Linked DNA regions of Homo sapiens: all the other regions are linked to region 6. Evidence: promoter capture Hi-C in 16 types of primary human blood cells and fetal thymus (Javierre and others, 2016). All regions are on one chromosome and are shown on one strand. The core of a region is centred on a gene start or on the middle of the fragment in contact, and the rest is flanking DNA. Distances in the headings are between cores, read along the strand shown. Region 1 overlaps KCTD21-AS1 (KCTD21 antisense RNA 1). Region 2 holds the start of KCTD14 (potassium channel tetramerization domain containing 14). Region 3 overlaps INTS4 (integrator complex subunit 4). Region 4 overlaps ALG8 (ALG8 alpha-1,3-glucosyltransferase). Region 5 overlaps NDUFC2-KCTD14 (NDUFC2-KCTD14 readthrough). Region 6 holds the start of GAB2 (GRB2 associated binding protein 2).

Region 1 (2,917 bases), core at 411-2,910, 270 kb after region 6:
GATCATATCAAGGGTAAGGCAATCATAAGGACTTCAGGGACAGTCATAGTCCCACCACCAAGCAAGAAATCCAGGCCAGCCAAAGTGCTAGATGAGAATAAGAGAAATCTAGATTGAGTGGTAGAAGAAGCAGATAATGAATATCAATTACAGCTTTGGGATCAACTGTAGCAGCAAGTGTTATAACTTGTTTCACTAATTTGCTTGGATTATCAAGTGTTTGCAGAGAACGCAGCCAACTGCCATACTGAAGACGACCGTATGACAAATTAAATTTACACAAGGGCATTTTAAGTGGGCTTGAATGGTGCAAGGGTTGGACTCTGTCAAACACCTCTCATGTCCCACTTCATATCTTGTCAGTCTCACCTCTTATTCCAGCCATTGTGCAGCAGTGACCATCTTCATGAAGATGTAACCTGAAAATGCCTGGCCTCAGGCCCGTCTCATGTCTTTCATTTTCTGCCTTCCAGTCTCTTTGAGCTGCCATGCCTGATGTCTGTGGGAGTCCACTTAGCACTCATTTACAGGAAACATAAATGTTCCCTAGGGCCAGTCTTGACCAATGGGAGAGGGAAACTGATGGATAACCTTTTCTCCCTCTCTTCCCCTGAGCAAGACAGTCCTTAAATGCATCCTATATGGTCTCTCAGAAGGTCTCCCATGCTTGAGTAATCAGTTGTCCTCAGTAGTAGTTAATATCTTATCCTTATATTTGCACTCCCTATTTCATTTTCTGCAAGCATAGCTCCTGCTTCCTGAGATCAGCACAGCAAATTAAACTACTCACACATAAGCCTTTGTCTCAGGCCCTGCTTTGGGGAGAATATAGGCTAAGACAAATGCTTTAAGGCCATAAACAGAATTGAGAGGGTATTTCAGACTTCTGCCTTCAGGGACTGGGGGTTGGAGTCAAAAGTTTTTCTCTATTGTGCTCCAAGGTTAAATAAACAATGCTGTTGGTCATAAAATGTCATCCACATTTTCTTCCTGTGAAATAGGGTCACTTGATGATAATCAGCAGTCCCTTTGCTCTTAGAACATTTTGCTTTCATCCTTCTCCTGGTTGATATTAATGGTCTTTATAAAATTGATATTGATATGATCTGATGCTGATAAAGAGGAATTTGGGCTGGGCACAGTAGCTCATGACTGTAATCTCAGCACTTTGGGAGGCCGAGGCGGGCAGATTGCTTGAGCCCAGGAGTTTGAGACCAGCCTGGGCAACATGGCGAAACCTCAGTTCTACAAAAAATACAAAAATTAGCCAGGTGTGGTGGTGCACCTATAGTCCTAGCTACTCCGGAGGCTGAGGTGGGAGGATGATTTAAGCCTGTGAGGTCAAGGCTGCAGTGAGCTGTGCCCACTGCACTTTGGCCTGGGCAACAGAGTGAGACTCTGTCTGCCCCTACCCTCCCACTCCACCAAAAAATAAAAACAAAAAGAGAGAGTGGGATTCAAATACCAAGGTGCACCTCAATGAAGTCTAGATTCCTCTGGGCTTCTGATCAGTGCACCACAAAATTCTGAACACTCATGAAGACAAGATAGGAGGCTAGGTGCAGTGGCTCACGCCTGTAATCCCAGCACTTTGGGATACCAAAGGGGGAGGATCACTTGAGGTCAGGAGTTCCAGACCAGCCTGACCAATAGAGAAACCTTGTCTCTACTAAAAATACAAAAATTAGCCAGGCGTTGGGGCGGAAGCCTATAATCCCAGCTACTGGGAAGAATGAGGCAGGAGAATCGCTTGGGCCCAGAAGGAGGAGATTGCAGTGAGCCGAGATCATGCCACTGCACTCCAGCCTGGGAGACAGAGCGAGACTCCATCTCAAAAAAAAAAAAAAAGACAAGATAGGAGACTCCACAGCAAACACTTCCAAGTCATGGGCAAAGGTCTGGTGGCTAAATAGGGGAAGACATTTTTTTCTTTTCCTTATTTAGTCTCTCCTCAGAACACAAATTGGGAGCTTGAAGAAAGAAATAGTGTAATGGTTATAGATGCAGATGCTGCCATCTGATGGGCTGGGTTGAATCCTGGCTGCATCACTTACCAGCAGTGAGTACCCGAGTGAGTTCCTTAACTCTCCAGTGCTCTATTTCCTCACAATGTTTACATAAATGAGATGACTTATGTATCACACTTCACCCAGTGTTTGGTATCTAGTAAGTGTATGCTATTAATAATAATTGAATCATTGCTACTATTCATATCCTAGTTCACATGGAGCTTGGCAACAATGAAATCTAAGGTTCTGTGTGTTATACCTGTTTTTTTTTTTTCCATATTTTAAGTTACCTCATAACCCTTAAAAGCAAAGATTACTGAAATGTGTGTCCTGGCCCCGCCCCAATAACAAAATATAGGAAAGGAGCTGTGGGACACCCTTTGGCACTCAAATTAAGATCTTAGTTTTCCAGCCTAGCCAACATGGTGAAACCCTGTCTCTAAAAAAATACAAAAATTAGCTGGGCATGGTGGCACGCGCCTGTAATCCCAGCTACTTGGGAGGCTGAGACGGGAGGATCACTTGAACCTGGAAAGTGGAGGTTGCAGTGAGCCAAGATTGCGCCACTGCACTCCAGCCTGGTTGACAGAGCGAGACTGTCTCTGGGGGAGCAGGGAGGCGGGAAGAAAGATCTTAGTTGTTGTGCCAGGTGCGGTGGCTCACGCCTATAATCCAAGAACTTTTGGAGGCCGAGGTGGGCAGATCACTTGAGATCAGGAGTTTAAGACCAGCCTGGCCAAAATGGTGAAACCCCATCTCTACTAAAAATACAAAAAATTAGCCAGGCATGGTGGTACGCACCTGTAATCCAGCTACTTGGGAGGCTGAGGCAGGAGAATCACTTGAACCCAGGAGGCGGAGGTTGCAGCGAGCGGAGATCGTGCCACTGAACTCCAGCCTGGGATACA
Region 2 (3,014 bases), core at 55-2,554, 390 kb after region 6:
TTAACATTAGCCAACCACAAGCAGCCAACTAACATACAATTAAGTAGCTGTGGACTTTTCAACAAAGGAAACCAAAAAAGGAGATTTTTTAACTGTAACCAATTTTATATATATATATGTATATATATATATATGTGTGTGTGTGTGTGTGTGTGTGTGTGTGTGTGTATATATATATATATTTTTTTTTTTTTTTTTTGAGAGGGAATCTTTGTTGCCCAGGCTGGAGTTCAGTGGTGCAATCTTAGCTCACTACAATCTCTGCCTCCCGGGTTCCAGCGATTCTCCTGCCTCAGCGTCCACAGTATCTGGGATTACAGGCACATGCCATCACACCCAGCTAATTTTTGTATTTTCAGTAGAGACGGGGTTTCACCATTTTGGTCAGGCTGGTCTCGAACTTCTGACCTCAAATGATCTGTCCGCTTTGGCCTCCCAAAGTGCTAGGATTACAGGCGTGAGCCACCATGCCTGTCCCCAACAAAATATCTTGCTTCCATATTCTCCCCATAAATATTTGCCTCTGATGCATTGTCATGGGAACACTCAACCTCTTTCCATCTGGTGTTCCCCGATTCAAGAATTGCCTGTTACTCAAGTATACTCTTAAAAAAGTTTTGTTGATCCTCAGACTTTACATTTTAACACCACCCTACCTCCTAGAGCGCCAGTTTTCTGATCTGTAAAATGGGTGTTGCGGATCTTTCACTCCCTAGGACTGTAGGGAATAGAAAGTCTCTGGTTGTCAATGTCAGTCAATGTCAATTCCTTCTGCCTCCCCCATTTCACTACTGGGAACTCCGAGGCCCAGAGAGGGGCATTAACTAATGTCAACTTTAATAACGGGATTCAAGCAATATGTTTAAGTAATTTATTTAAGCGTAAAAGAAAATATAGGAAGAGGCAAGTTGCCGTGGCTCAGGCCTGTAATCCCACCACTTTGGGAGGCTGAGGTGGGAGGATCACTTGAGCCCAGGAGGTTGAGGTTGCAGTGAGCCTGATCCGCCACTGCACTTCAGCCTGAGCGATAGAGTGAGACCCTGTCTCTGAAAAAAAAAAAAGAAAGAAAGAAAGAAAAGGAAGGAAATTAATCTATATCAAAAGGTCAGTCCTTAAGGGGTCTGCTCCATTTCTCGGTCTCCAAAGTCAGCCCTTCTCAGGGCCTAACAACTTTTAGAAGCCCCAAATAGACAGACTGTCCATTTCTTTCTGCACTTGGCCCAGTCTCACTGCAAGCCACGCCTGGCTCAGCCCCGTCCCGCCTTGAGCCTCGGTGTTCCCACCTAGGGGCGGGCAGCCAGGGGCACTTCCGCTGGCCCAAGTGATCTGCATGTGGCAGGGCTGCGCAGTGGAGCGGCCAGTGGGCAGGATGACGAGCCAGACCCCTCTGCCCCAGTCCCCCCGGCCCAGGCGGCCAACGGTAAGTGCGAGGCTAGCTGCGTCCCCGCGCCTCTGTCCTCCGCCTCTTCCCTCCGCCTCTTCCCTCCCTTCCAGTTTCTCCTGCCCGTCCCTCCCAGACGCCCGAGCCCCCTGCTTCTGGCGCGCTGTCCCCCTTCACCTCGGGCTGGTCGCTCTCTTCAATCTTTGCCGTCCCTCCTGCTGGGATCACTCTCCTTTCGCGCCTCGGTGTCCCTTTCTGGTTTGGCTCTGTCCAGCCTTTCCTCTTTGCCCTTTTGCTTCCTCCCTCTACATTGGGTCTTTAGTTCCTTTCCCTTGTCTCTTCCCCACCGGCTTGTCCTAGCCCACGACTCCTCCTCTGCCCCACCTTCTCCCTTGCTCCCGGTGGGAGAAGCCCATCCAACCAGCTCGGCCAGAGGATCTTTCCCTCACCTGCAGCCCTCTCCAGCCTGCCCCTGCCCCTTGGCTGGGTCTTCAGCCTGCCCCTGCCCTCTGGCTGGGTCCCAAATCCCTCTGCTTGCCTGCCTGGTCCCCAGCTTGGGTGAGGGGAGTTGGGGAGGAGGATGGGGAAAAGGCTGCGTGCACTCTGGGAGCAGAACATTCGGGTTCTCTCCTGCACTGAGAGTCATCCTGAAGACCTGGAGGAAGAGAAAGCAGATCCAGCAGCAGGGCAGCGTGGCTCTCTCTAATAGGGCCATGATCACGTCATTGTTGTTGGCTATTGACAAAGCCACATGCCTAGTGCCAGGACCACCCTAGGTGTTCCATAAATGCCTGAATGAATTACTGGGGAAGTGTAAGGCACTGTGCATGATGCCAGGTAGGGCAAGATTGGCCTTGAACAGAATACTAGATGCTCCTGTAAATCAGAGGATATTCCCCTCCCTTAGGAGCCTCACAGAGTTTTTGTTTGTTTGTTTGTTTGTTAAAATAGAGATGGGGTCTCGCCATGTTGGTGAGACCCAGGCTGGTCTCAAACTCTTAGGCTCAGGCAATCCTCCTACCTCAGCCTCCCAAAGTGCTGGGATTACAGGCATGAAACACAGCACTTGGCCAGGAACCTCACAGTCAATGAAGAAACAGGGAATTGCAAGGGAAGAACTGCCAGGCCAGTGGAAGTATAGTAGTGTAGGACTTTCTGGGATCACAGTGAGACAACCCACCCCGAAGGACTCCCAGAGGAATTCATCTGAAGGATGAGTGGGGTCAGAGAAAGGAGTGCGGATGGCCAAGTGAGTGAGCTTCTGGAGGTGAGGGGGCTTGCCCAGCTCTGGATTGGAGGAGTGGGGAGCAGCAGGCAGTTCTGGTAGTTGATTGCGAGGGGTGAAGTAGCAGCCTAGTTGCAAAGGGCCTCTAAACCTTGTTATGGAGTCTGCTGTTTATCTGGAAGGGAATGAAAAGTTACTCAAGTGTTTAATGCAGGGAGTGACAGGATCAGATTTGTACTTCAGAAAACGTACTCTCAGCCAGGCGTGGTAGCTCATGCCTGTAGTTCCAGCACTTTGGGAGGCAGAGGTGGGTGGACCACCTACCTCAGGCGTTCGAGGCCAGCCTGGCCAACATGGCAAAACCCTGTCTGTATAAAAAATAGAGAAATTAGCTGGACATGGTGGCAC
Region 3 (2,967 bases), core at 157-2,656, 430 kb after region 6:
GCAAAATGTTAGTGTAAGGCTGGGCACCGTGGCTCATGCTTGTAATCCCAGCACTTTGGGAGGCTGAGGTGCCAGGATTGCTTGAGCCCAGGAGTTAAGACCAGCCTGGGCAACATAGAGAGACTCCATCTCTAAGAAAAAAAAAAAGTATACCTATTTTACAGAGACATAAACTGAGACTCGGAGAAATTAAATGACTTGCCTAAAGTCATAGGAACTGGTAAAGGCAAAATTGAGACTCATGGCCTTGTCACCAACCCGGTACTCTTTCTGGTTTATAATACTGTATTTTCCTAAGTCCATCAGCTAAATATATTATTTGGTATAATGGAAAATCATTTCCACCAAATGAGGCAAAGTTAAATTTGCAGATTCTGTGTTTTCGATTTTCTCTACCCCTTGCAGCCACAGGAGGAAATTGCTACTAAGAAACTCCGACTAACAAAACCAAGTAAATCTGCAGCACTCCACATAGATCTGTGTAAAGCTACCTCCCCAGCAGATGCTTTGCAATACTTGCTCCAGTTTGCCAGGAAGCCTGTCGAGGCGGAAAGCGTAGAGGGAGTAGTCAGGATTCTCTTGGAACATTATTACAAGGTAAGAAAATCTTGAGGATCTGATGGGAGTATATCATGGGAGTTGTATCATGTCTGCAGAATGGTTAATATTACAAATAAATAGGGTATTCATTAGGAAGCTTTTATTGAGTGTCTTCCAAGTGCTAGGTACTATGGATACCGAGATAAAAAAGATACAGATCTTGACCTCAGAAAGTTATACTGTGTATAGTAGATGGAAACAAGACATGTCAATGATAAGGTGCATCATACTGCTGAAGTTACTGTGAGTGCAGTATGTGCAGAGTACAGTGGAAGCACAAAAGAGGAGTAAATATCAATCATGACCCATTCATCTCTGGAATGTGGTCCTGCTGTTCCTTTCCTAATTCATGGCCCTCATATCTAATTGCAGTGGCCCTCTTTTTTAATTAAAAATACATTTTTTTTTTTTTTTTTTTGGAGACAGAGTCTCGCTCTGTTGCCCATGCTGGAGTGCAGTAGTGCAATCTTGGCTCGCTGCAACCTCTGCCTCCTGGGTTCAAGCGATTCTCCTGCCTCAGCCTCCTTAGTAGCTGGGATTACAGGCACGTGCCACCACACCCTGCTAATTTTTGTATTTTTAGTAGAGACGGGGTTTTGCCATGTTGGCCAGGCTGGTCTCGAACTCCTGACTTTAAGTGATGCAGCCACCTTGGCCTCCCAAAGTGTTAGGATTACAGGCGTGAGCCACTGCGTCTGGCCAAAAAAACTGTTTTTGAGACAGAGGCTCACTGTCACCCAGCCTAGAGTTTAGTGGCATCATCATAGGTCACTGTAGCCTGGAACTCCTGGGCTTAAGTGATTCTCCTGGCTCAGCCTTCCACGTAGGTGGGACTGCAGACGTGCCACTACTCCAGGCTAAGTTTTGCATTTTTTTTTTTTTTTTTTTTGAGACTTGGTCTGTCACTCAGCCTGGAGTATAGTGGTGGCACAATCTTGGCTCACTGCAACCTCCGTCTCTTTGGTTTAAGTGATTCTCCTGCGTCAGCCTCCAGAGTGGCTAGGACCGCAGGTGTGTGACACCACACCCAGCTAATTTTTTTTGTATTTTTAGTAGAGGTGGGGTTTTGCTGTGTTGGCCAGGCTGGTCTTGTACTCCTGACCTCAAGTGATCCATGCACCCTGGCCTCCCAAAGTGCTGGGATTGCAAGCGTGAGCTACCATTCCCAGCCCAAAAATCATTATTATTATTACTATTATTATTTTTGAGATGGGGTCTTGCTTTCTCGCCCAGGCGGGAGTGCAGTGGTGCTATCACGGCTCACTGTACCCTCGACCTCCGAGGCTCAATTGATCCTCCTGCCTCAGCCTTCTGAGTAGCTGGGACTACAGGCATGTGCAGCATGCCTGGCTAATTTTTGTATTTTTTTTTTTTTTTTGTAGAGACAGGGCTTTGCTATGTTGCACAGGCTGATCTCGAATTCCTGGGCTCAAGCAATCCACCCTCCTTGGGCTTCCAAATTGCTGAGATTACAGGTGTGAACCACCACACTCAGCCCCCAAATTGTTAAGCTTATGGAAAAGTAGATAAAATACTATAGTGACCTACCAAATATCCATTCCTAGAATTTAACAGTTATTAGTATTTTGCCAAATTTGCTCTATTTTTTCGCTGAATTTTATTTTATTTTGTTATTATTTTTTTTGAGATGAGTCTCACTCTGTTGCCCAGGCTGGAGTGTAATAGCACTCCTGGGTTCAAGCAGTTCTCCTGCCTCAGCCTCCCAAGTAGCTGGGACTACAGGAGTGCGCCATCACGCTCAGCTAATTCTGTATTTTTAGTAGAGATGGGGTTTCACCATGTTGGCCAGGCTAGTCTCGAATTCCAGACCTCGGGTGATCCACCTGCCTCGGCCTCCCAAAGTGCTGGGATTACAGGTGTGAGCCACCGCGCCCAGCCTTGTTTTGTTGAATTTTTAAAAAGATATGTCATTTTTTTCTAATTATTTCATTACATATCTATTAAAAAGGGATACCTTTTTGTTGTTTTCTTTTTTTTTCTCACTGCTATGAGAAAGTAGAGGGACTTTTTATTTTTTAACATAGCCACCTAACCCTAATGAATAAAGTTAAGTAATTCTTTAATGTCATCTAAGAATTAGTTGATATTTAGATTTCTGTAGTTGTTCTCCCAGTACCTTTTTATAGTTGATGTATTCAAATCAAAATGCAAACCAGGTCCCCACATGGCATTCAGTCTTTTCAAAAATCTACAACAGTTACTATTTTGGTGACATTGATTTGATGAAGAAACTGAGACAGTTCTTTTGTAAAATGTCTTGTTTTCTGAATTCATTTACTTCTTTAAGGATTAACTTGTTCCTCTGTTCTCTGTATTTACTATGAACTGAAAGTTAGATCTATAGGC
Region 4 (2,954 bases), core at 204-2,703, 310 kb after region 6:
GTACCACCACGCCCAGCTAGTTTTTTTTGTATTTTTAGTAGAGATGGGGTTTCACTATGTTGGTCAGGCTGTTCTTGAACTCCTAACCTCAAGTGATCTGCCTGCCTTGGCCTCCCAAAGTGCTGGGATTATAGGCATGAGCCACCATGCCCAGCCAGTAGAATTAATTTTAATGAGTTAAATATATACATCAAGGCTAGGTGCGGTGGCTCAAACCTGTAATCCCAGCACTTTGGGAGGCCAAGGCAGGCAGATCACGAGGTCAGGATTTTGAGACCAGCCTGGCCAACATGGTGAAACCCCGTCTCTATTAAAAATACAAAAATTAGCTGGGCGTGGTGGCAGGCACCTGTAATCCCAGCTACTTGGGAGGTTGAGGCAGGAAAATCGCTTGAACCCAGGAGGTGGAGGTTGCAGTGAGCCGAGATCGCACCACTGCACTCCAGCCTTGGCAACAAAGCGAGACTCCGTCTCAAAAAAACAAAAAATTATATATATATATATATATATATATTTACATATAAAATATATTTATTTACATATAAAAATATATATATACACATCAAATGCCAATTTTTTCTGAGTTGTTGCTTTTATGTTAACTTTTGTTAGACTGTGCACAAAGTGATGAATGATTCGGTTTCATGAAGAATTGTCTAAGATTGGCTGTCTTTCAGAGATGATGCAAATTGTATTCACCTGAACTCTGTTTCTGTAAAGTCTGTTTCAAATGATACTGAAGTTTATCTTTGCCTGTTGTTTCTAGCCCTCTATTTTCTGTCTTTGGTTTAAACCCCAAGGGCCCAGAGGCTTTCTCCGATGTCTAACTCTTTGTGCCTTGAGCTCCTTTATGTTTGGGTGGCATGTTCATGAAAAAGCCATACTTCTAGCAATTCTCCCAATGAGGTAAGCAGATAGCTCAGCCAGTGAGCATTTTGGCATATTTCACAATGATCCTATTTTCTATTTGCTCTGTCCCTTCTTGTCATGTTCACCAGGATAGGCAAAAACAAAGATGTATAGGAACAGATGTCCACTAGGACAGGACAGGGATGCTTAACTTGAGATTCTTGGACCCATGAAGGTATGCAAAAATGCATGTACTATTTCTGTTTCTGCGTTTTTGGAAAGAAGCACTGTAGTGATTAAGTACCATGAAAGCCGGCTTTTAGATCTGATCATTGAGGGACAGTATGTTATAGAAAAAACCTGGGCTGGCCGGGCGCGGTAGCTCACGCCTGTAATCCCAGCACTTAGGGAGGCCAAGGCGGGCAGATCACGAGGTCAGGAGATCGAGACTATCCTGGCTAACATGGTGAAACCCCATCTCTACTAAAAATACAAAAAATTAGCTGGGCATAGTGGCACATGCCTGTAGTCCCAGCTACTCGGGAGGCTGAGGCAGGAGAATTGCTTGAACCCGGGAGGAAGAGGTTGCAGTGAGCCGAGATCGCACCACTGCATTCCATTCTGGGTGACCGAAGGAGACTCTGTCTCAAAAATGAAAAAAAGAAAAAACTTGGGCTTTGGTGTCATCCCGTCTGAAAATAAGGTCCCATGGTTCCTTGTTAAGTGTTGTTAGTCAAAGTAAGGATTTAGTCTATTCTGGAATAATACCTGATACTGTACTACATTTCAGATTTTCCAGAACTGTTTTTGTTTTGCATTCTTTCTTTTGCGCCTCACAATAATCTTTAAGATAATTGGCCAGGCATGGTGGCTCACATCTGCAATCCCAGTACTTTCGGAGGCTGAAGCGGTGGTTCACTTGATGCCAGGAGTTTGAGATCAGCCTGGCCAACATGGCAAAATCCCATCTCTACTAAAAATACAAAAATTAGCCAGGCATGGTGGTGCATGCCTGTAATCCCAGCTACTTGGGAGGCTGAGGCATGAAGATCCTTTGAACCTGGGAGGTGAAGGTTGCAGTGAGCCAAGATGGCGCCACTGCACTCCAGCCTGGGGCAATAGAGTGAGACCCTGTCTCAAAAAAAGAAAAAAAAAAAAGATAGTTAAAATAAATGGGTATTATTCCCTTTTTTTTCCTTTCTTTTTTTTTTTTTTACTTTTTGGTAGAGACAGGGTCTTGCCATGTTGCCTAGGCTGGTCTCAAACTACTGGGCACAAGCAGTCTTCCTACCTCAGCCTCCCAAAGTGCTGGGATTGCAGATGTGAGCCAACAAAACAGGCTTATTCCCTGTCTTAACATCTGAAGAATCTAGGGCTCAAAATGTTTGTGACTTGTCCAAAGTCATACAGGTCGCAAGAATTAGAGTTAGGACCTGAATCTTATGATGTTGAATCTATGATCTTTTCACTATGCCATGCTAAAAAAACCATTTTAAATGTAAGTGTCCAGTTTAGGCATAGTTGAAACCCAATAGATAAATAAATGGTAATAATAGCCTCTTTCTTTATATTTTTCTTGAATCTTGAGAAATCATTTAAGCTCTGAACATATATTAAGCAAATTTGTCAGGCCAGTATGTGGCTTGTCTGGGTTTATTTAGCAGCTTGGAGTTTCCAAATTAAAAAGTAAAGCAAAAACTTTTAATGTCTTTAGTCTGAATTCACACCAAACACCAGCAGGTGAAGGGCATTGTCCAAGAGATGAGCTATAGGGTTGGAAATGAAACTCCAAGTCCTGTTTCCCTGACTGCCACCACTAGGCAGCTCCCAATCCCACAACATTCCTGTCTTTGGAGAAGGCAATTACTCAGGGAAGCAAGATTCTTTTTTTTTTTTTTTTGAGACAGAGTCTCGCTCTGTTGCCCAGGCTGGAGTGCAGTGGCGCGATCTCGGCTCACTGCATCCTCTGCCTCCCAGGTTCAAGCAATTCTCCTGCCTCAGCCTCCTGAGTAGCTGGGATTACAAGCACCCGCCACCATGCCCAGCTAATTTTTGTATTTTTAGCAGAGACAGGGTTTCACCATGTTGGCCAGGCTGCTCTTGAA
Region 5 (3,236 bases), core at 495-2,994, 370 kb after region 6:
GACGTTTGACTGGTAAGGGAAGAATGCCTTGAGTGAGCAGTGCACAACTCCAGGAAACACACTGCGCATGCTCCCCTCCCAAGCACTAGCAGGCCTCTGCACATGCCGGTAGCCAGCCCCAAGGGAAGAATAGGGGGAGAAGGGACACAAGACCCCAGAAGTTTGCCAATGTATAAATCCCCAAGTCAAAAGGTTAAACAGTGCACTTGGCTTGGCTTTCAAGTCATTGGCTTGACCCTCTTCCAAGTGTACTTTCTTTTTTTTTTTTTTTTTTTTTTGCAACAGAGTTTCGCTCTGTCACCCAGGCTGGAGTACAGTGGCACGATCTCGGCTCACTGCAACCTCTGCCTCCTAGGTTCAGGCGATTATCCTGCCTCAGCCTCCCGAGTAGCTGGGATTACAGGCACATGCCACCACACCCGGTTGATTTTTGTGTTTTTATTAGAGACTGGGTTTCACTATGTTGGCCAGGTTGGTCTTGAACTCCTAACCTCACGTGATCTACCCGCTTCAGCCTCCCAAAGTGCTGGGATTACAGGCGTGAGCAACCACACTCAGCCCCAAGTGTACTTTCTTTCCTTTCCTGCTCTAAAGCTTTTAATAAACTTTCACTCCTGCTCTAAGACTTGTCTCGGTTTCTCCTTCTGCCTTATGTGCCTCAGTCGAATTCTTTCTGCTGAGGAGGCAAGAACTGAGGTTGCGGCAGACCCATACGGATTCGCTGCCGGTCACGCTCCTTGTATTAATTTTGTATTGCTGTTGTAACAGATGAACACAAACCTAGGGGCTTAAAGCAACAGACACTTATTACCTTATAATCCTGGAGGTCAGAAGTCCAACATGGGTCTCACCAGCGTAAAATCAAGGGGTCAGCAGGGCTGCCCTCCTTTCTGGAGGCTCTGGGGAGAATTCGTTCCTTGTCTTTTCTGGCTCCTAGAGGCTGCCCGCACTCTTTGGCTTGTAATCTTTTCCTCTGTGTTCAAAGCCAGGAACACCTTTTCATGCTGCCTCTCTGGTTCTCCCTCTTCCAGTTACATTGGGTACTGCTGGATAATTCAGGATAATCTTTCCATCTTAAGGTCAGCTGATTAGCAATCTTAACTCCATCTGCCCCCTTAATTTCCCTTTGCCATGTAACCTAACATTTACAGGTTCAGGAATTAGGAAGGTGGCATCTTTGGGGGCCATTATTGTGCCTATTACACTCATCCCTTTCAATTTTGTTTTTATATGCCATGGTATTTTTTTTCTTTCTTTTTTGAGATGAAGTCTCGCGATGTTGCCTAGGCCGGTCTCGAGCTCCAAGGCTCAAACCATCCTCCCACTTCAGCTTCCTCATTAGCTCAGACTGCAGGCGCCTGTTACATTGCTTTGGTGCCTTGTATTTTTGTTTTGTTTTTATTTTATTATTTTATTTTTTTGTTTGTTTTTGGTTTTGAAACGGAGTCTCACTCTGTCGCCCAGGCTGGAGTGCAGTGGTGCAATCTCAGCTCACTGCAACCTCTGCCTCCTAGGTTCAAGTGATTCTCCTGCCTCAGCCTCCCGAGTAGCTAGGATTACAGGCGTGAGCCATCACACCCAGCTAATTTTTGTATTTTTAGTAGAGACGGGGTTTCACCATGTTGGTCAGGCTGGTCTGGAACTCCTGACCTCAGGTGATCTGCCTGCCTCGGCCTCCCAAAGTGTTGGGATTATAGTCATGAGCCACTGCACCTGGCCTGTTTTGTTTTTTTTGAGTCAAGATCTCACTCTGTCACCCAGGCTGGAGTACAGTGGCATAATCACGGCTTGCTGTAGCCTCAACTTCCCAGGCTCAAAGGATTCTCCCACCTCAGCCTTCCCGAGTAGCTGGGACTACCGGCATGTGCCACCAAGTCCAGCTAATTTTTTTATTTCTTGTAGAGACAAGAAATATAATTTGGCTGGGCACAGTGGCTCACGCCTGTAATCCCAGCACTTTGGGAGGCCGAGGCAGGTGGATCATGAGGTCAGAAGATCGAGACCATCCTGGCTAACATCGTGAAACCCCGTCTCTACTAAAAATACAAAAAATTAGCCAGGTGTGGTGGCAGGCGCCTGTAGTCTTAGCTACTCGGGAGGTTGAGGCAGGAGAATGGCGTGAACCCAGGAGGCGGAGCTTGCAGTGAGCTGAGATTGTGCCACTGCACTCCAGCCTGGGCAACAGAGCGAGACTCTGTCTCAAAAAAAAAAAAAAAAAAAGAAATATAAGTTTCGTCACATTGTCCAGGCTGGTCTTGAACTCCTGGCCTCAAGTGATGCCCCTACCTCAGCCTCCAAAAGTGCTAGGATTACAGCCATGAGCCACCGTGCCTGGCCAGGATATAGTATATTTAATAAAATATATACCTATTAAAATTTTTCTGGCTGGGTATGGTGGGCTGTAATCCTAGCACTTTGGGAGGCCTGGGTAGGAGGATTGCTTGAGGCCACGAGTCTGACACCAAGATGGGTGACATAGTGAGAGGCCCCATCTCTACTAAAAAATATTTTTGCAACCTGGGCAGCATAAAGAGACCCCATCTCTACAAAAAATTTAAGTTAGCTGGGTGTGGTGGCATGCGCCTATGGTCCCAGCTACTCAAGAGGCTGAGGCAGGAGGATTGCTTGTGCCCAGGAGGTCAAGGCTGCAGTTAGCCGTGATCATTGCCACAGCACTCCAGCCTGGGCTACAGAGCAATGCGCTGTCTCAAAAAAACCCCCAAAATTATGATTTCATGTATCTGTATATTCTTTATACCTACACAGGTAGTAAACACAAACTTAAACGTTGGAATGAAAAAGCAAATTGAAGGAGCCATCTGGGTGGAGGGAGGGGAAAAAAGGAAGCGTACATGAGTACTTTATATTCATTAGGTCTTATTTCCCAAGCTTAGTAATGGCTACATGAATATTTATATATTCATCATCTAATATTTTTGAATAGATTAAGTACTTATAACAACAGAAAAGGAAAAGTGAGAAATGTTTTCTAGGAATAAATGCAAGCCTCAGCAAAAGTTCAGAGGCATGAAATAGCAAGATACATACATACATATATACTGATGATTCTCCAGCATGCCTGCACTCTCTCCCAAACTCCACCATAACTTCCAAATCTTTGCTCACCTCTTCCTAACCTCGCCCCCTTAAGTCCAGCCTCAGCCCCCGCGCTGACATTTTCGCCAGATCAGCCCCCTTCCCCTTTAGGATAGGCTCTCCTCTCATTGCAAGGTGCG
Region 6 (3,017 bases), core at 498-2,997:
CCTGACTTGCATCACAAACCTCAGCTGCAGCCAAACCATGCAGATTTCTCCGACTCTGCAATCTCTGGGACTTGGCACCATGACTCAGATGTGAATGAAGTCAGGATAGTTTTATTTTGGTTGGAAGTCACCGCCTCCTGATTGATTTGGCAGACGTTAAGTGTTGTTTGTCTTACAGGGATTTAAGGTACTTAAAGCCAGAAGTTAAAATGGCCATCATTCTGGTGGTGGCCCTTCATACGTGACTTAAGGATCCCTAAATTGTAAGGTTAAGGGAGCTGTGGTCCCAGCCTACCAGTTCTGGCTTTACTTCCCATCCAGCAGCACACTGGATATTGAAGAAAGTCAGTGAAATGTTAGATCCAGGGGACTGACCGCTAAAACTCCCAGGGTATCTAGAAGAGCTAAGTACGTGGTAGGGGATTCGCTTTTCCAAATTGAGGAGGGTGAACTTCCCCCAACCCAATCAAGATCTTTTGGACCAAATGATGTCCAACTGCTTGAAACAACTCAGCTGCACAGAGACAGAAATAAACAAAACAGCTTTAGTCTGAGGTTGTGTGGGGCACTGCAAGATGCTGCTTCTCCAATTCATCTGTCCACACAGCACGGTTCCCCATTGAATAAACAGGTTACTATCCACTTATCAGAGAAGTTAGGGAGGACCTGCCTTTTAATGCTGCTTAGAGAGACACTTTGTGATGAGAAAAGAGCTCGTACAAAAGATTTTTTTCTCCCCCCTCCCGCTGAAGTGCTGGGGTTGTGTGCTTCCACGTACATCTGGGATACCATTATATTTACAAACAGAGGTCTCATAGCCTGTGTCAATGAGCGGGAACGTTGGGGAATTTGGACCCCAATTTCTTGTTCTTCTGCACTTGACCTTGCCTTCCAATTCGTTATGAAATACATTGACTAGTTTTGCTTCTTCCATTCTACAAATCATGCGAATTTTCTATACTAAACTGTGTTTTCCCAGAGGCAGTGTAGGAGGGAGTCAGCTGGACTTGGTTTCCAGGCAATGAGAGGCTCCCAGGTCGATCCCATTAAGGCAATGCCCTCATTTTGAATAGCAGATGACCGGGACCCCTCCTCCCCCACACACCTGAATTGGAAAATTGGCTCGGCTTTGTACAAGCCCTTGCCCTTAGGCTGTCCATAAAATAGGAACAATACTGAAGACAATCCTGTAAGCTACAAAAGCAAAGGCTCCGGCGCGTAGTAGGTCCGTCTCCTCCTCCCGCCGAGGGACGCCAGAGTTAAGGAGCTTCTTGCTGGGAAGGGGTCCCTCCTTTCAGCCGGAACCTGACCCGCAGAATGTATCGGAAATGTGAGCAGCCCTAGTATCCCTTCCCCGTCGACGCTCGGTGAAAAATCGATCGACGACCGAGGGCGCGCAGTCCCTTCCCCTCACACCCGCCAGCGCCAGGGGCGCGGTCGCCTCCCTGGCCTCCGCGCCCGCGGCTTGGGGCCTCAGGAGAAAGCGAGACTCCGGGGCGCGCCGGCGGCGGTGGCTTTCTGTATCCTCGCGGGTCCCTAGCCCCGCGTCCGCGTGCGCGGCGGCCTCGGGGGCGCGGCGGGAGCGGGCGTGGCGAGCGAGCCGGCCTTCCTGCTGCAGCTGCTCCCCCGGCGGCCGGGCGGAGAGTGCGGATTGCGCGCGCTCGGGGCGGGGGAGCGGGCGCGCGCGAGGCTGCCGGGCTCGCGCCGCGCCGCGCCGCCTAGTCCCCGCCGGGCCGCCCGCCCCGCCCCTGGCCTCCCGCGAGCTGCGCACCGCCGGCCGCTGCCCCAGCTGCCCGAGCCCGCGCCCTCGTCCGCGCGACCCGGCGGGGGGCTCCAGGCCGGCAGCATGAGCGGCGGCGGCGACGTGGTGTGCACCGGCTGGCTGAGGAAATCGCCTCCCGAGAAGAAGTTGAGGCGCTATGTGAGTGCGGGCGCGGCCGCCCAGGGGCGGGCGGGGGGCGCTCCGGGGCCTGCGGAGGGGCGGGGGACTCCCGGAGGGGCGGCAGGCTGGGGAGCTCGGGCCCGGAGCCGCGGGGGGCCGGGGGCGAGGAGCGGCCGGGGGCGTGTGGGGCACCTGCACACCTGTCACAGGTGGGCCGCCGAGGGGCGGGGCGGGCGGCAGGTTGAGGCTGCGGCTCCTGCTCCGCCAGGCGGGTGCGGCTGCGGCGCCTCCCAAGCCGGTCTGCTCGTGAACTAAATACAGTGTCGAAGTTTTGTATTGATGGCTTCTGGAGACCGAGAGAGTTGACTCTCGGGGCTGGGGCTCCGCGGCAGCCCCGAGCAGCTTCAGCCCGCAGGGTCGGGGAGAGGGCGGGAAAGGGGGGCGTAGGCTGTGGGGCCGCGCGGACGGCCCCACAAAGGGCGAGCGCCTCACGCCCTCTCCTTCCCTTTCTCCGCCTGCCCCTCCCGGCCGCCGGCCTCCCTCCGTCCGCGGCTGCATCACCGGCAGCGTCAGCGGCATGTGCAGCCCTTGTATTAAGTGACTCATTTGTTTGTCCCCCTTCTTTCCCTTTATTCCGTTCGTCTCTCACAGGCGCCTCCCCCCGACCCCGGTGTGACACTGCAGTTTGGTCCCCGTGGCTGGCCCGGGTTTGGGACCGGGCAGCTCCCGGGTGTCTGGGGTCGGGAGAGATCGAGGCTCTCCGCGGCCAGGTGTTGCCAACCGACAGTGTTTACTGAGATCGCTGGAACAGCCTTTTCCCTCTAGGTGGGGAACTGGCAGCCTGGGGGAGGTGGAACAGCGTGGCGCTGAGCCGTGGAGTTCTGGCTTTTTTTTTTTTTTTTTTTAACCCCTCTCCCCAGAGGATGCCTTGCCTGGTGAGGTCAAAGTACAAGATGGTGCCAGTTACTGAGATTTGGCCGAAATGGTCTTGGGGTAGTCGCGGGAGTTTGGAAGTGGGGGTAAGGTTGCTGGAAGGTTTCAAGGTCTCTCATCTGCTCCCTCTCCGTTTCCCATGAAATGCCCTTGTTTAACGGGCTGTGGTGCCGAACTCCGGGATCACTCCCACAGCCTGGAA

Evidence for each region. The method cuts DNA at HindIII sites, captures the fragments that hold promoters and counts their contacts. A CHiCAGO score of 5 or more calls a contact.
Region 1: a contact is called between a fragment that was not itself captured here and the fragment with the promoter of GAB2 in region 6, in 13 of 17 cell types (naive CD4 T cells, non-activated CD4 T cells, activated CD4 T cells and 10 more). The highest score is 11.9, in naive CD4 T cells.
Region 2: a contact is called between the fragment with the promoter of KCTD14 here and the fragment with the promoter of GAB2 in region 6, in 10 of 17 cell types (naive CD8 T cells, erythroblasts, non-activated CD4 T cells and 7 more). The highest score is 10.5, in naive CD8 T cells.
Region 3: a contact is called between a fragment that was not itself captured here and the fragment with the promoter of GAB2 in region 6, in 1 of 17 cell types (activated CD4 T cells). The highest score is 5.0, in activated CD4 T cells.
Region 4: a contact is called between a fragment that was not itself captured here and the fragment with the promoter of GAB2 in region 6, in 1 of 17 cell types (neutrophils). The highest score is 6.1, in neutrophils.
Region 5: a fragment that was not itself captured here is called in contact with the fragment with the promoter of GAB2 in region 6 in 7 of 17 cell types (activated CD4 T cells, non-activated CD4 T cells, naive CD4 T cells and 4 more); the score reaches 7.8 in activated CD4 T cells.

Annotation. Positions count from the first base shown.
Region 1 is chr11:78,148,987-78,151,903 of GRCh38, reverse strand. It overlaps KCTD21-AS1 (KCTD21 antisense RNA 1), which reads right to left. Exons shown (of 3, transcript NR_102281.1): 2 at 2,811-2,917. Among named protein-coding and RNA genes, the nearest start is that of KCTD21-AS1, 11 kb to the right of the region's middle. The HindIII fragment of the contact is 9,693 bases long and covers 1-2,917 here.
Region 2 is chr11:78,021,566-78,024,579 of GRCh38, reverse strand. KCTD14 (potassium channel tetramerization domain containing 14) reads left to right here and starts at 1,304. Exons shown (of 2, transcript NM_023930.4): 1 at 1,304-1,420. The coding sequence starts at 1,331. The region is part of intron 2 of NDUFC2-KCTD14 (NDUFC2-KCTD14 readthrough); the gene reads left to right. It overlaps LOC124902723 (a long non-coding RNA gene), which reads right to left and starts at 2,037. Exons shown (of 2, transcript XR_007062795.1): 1 at 1,559-2,037; 2 at 858-1,046. RefSeq lists enhancers at 810-1,377, 1,378-1,947, 1,948-2,515. The HindIII fragment of the contact is 5,224 bases long and covers 1-3,014 here.
Region 3 is chr11:77,988,738-77,991,704 of GRCh38, reverse strand. It overlaps INTS4 (integrator complex subunit 4), which reads left to right. Exons shown (of 23, transcript NM_033547.4): 2 at 406-597. Among named protein-coding and RNA genes, the nearest start is that of INTS4, 4.4 kb to the left of the region's middle. The HindIII fragment of the contact is 1,414 bases long and covers 700-2,113 here.
Region 4 is chr11:78,104,759-78,107,712 of GRCh38, reverse strand. It overlaps ALG8 (ALG8 alpha-1,3-glucosyltransferase), which reads left to right. Exons shown (of 13, transcript NM_024079.5): 10 at 767-906. Among named protein-coding and RNA genes, the nearest start is that of NDUFC2-KCTD14, 26 kb to the right of the region's middle. RefSeq lists a silencer at 2,516-2,810. The HindIII fragment of the contact is 7,219 bases long and covers 1-2,954 here.
Region 5 is chr11:78,046,513-78,049,748 of GRCh38, reverse strand. All of the region lies in intron 1 of NDUFC2-KCTD14 (NDUFC2-KCTD14 readthrough), which reads left to right. Among named protein-coding and RNA genes, the nearest start is that of THRSP, 16 kb to the left of the region's middle. The HindIII fragment of the contact is 2,295 bases long and covers 597-2,891 here.
Region 6 is chr11:78,416,550-78,419,566 of GRCh38, reverse strand. GAB2 (GRB2 associated binding protein 2) reads left to right here and starts at 1,747. Exons shown (of 10, transcript NM_080491.3): 1 at 1,747-1,921. The coding sequence starts at 1,847. RefSeq lists silencers at 1,358-1,977, 2,088-2,187, 2,258-2,387, 2,850-3,017 and an enhancer at 2,007-2,761. The HindIII fragment of the contact is 5,597 bases long and covers 1-3,017 here.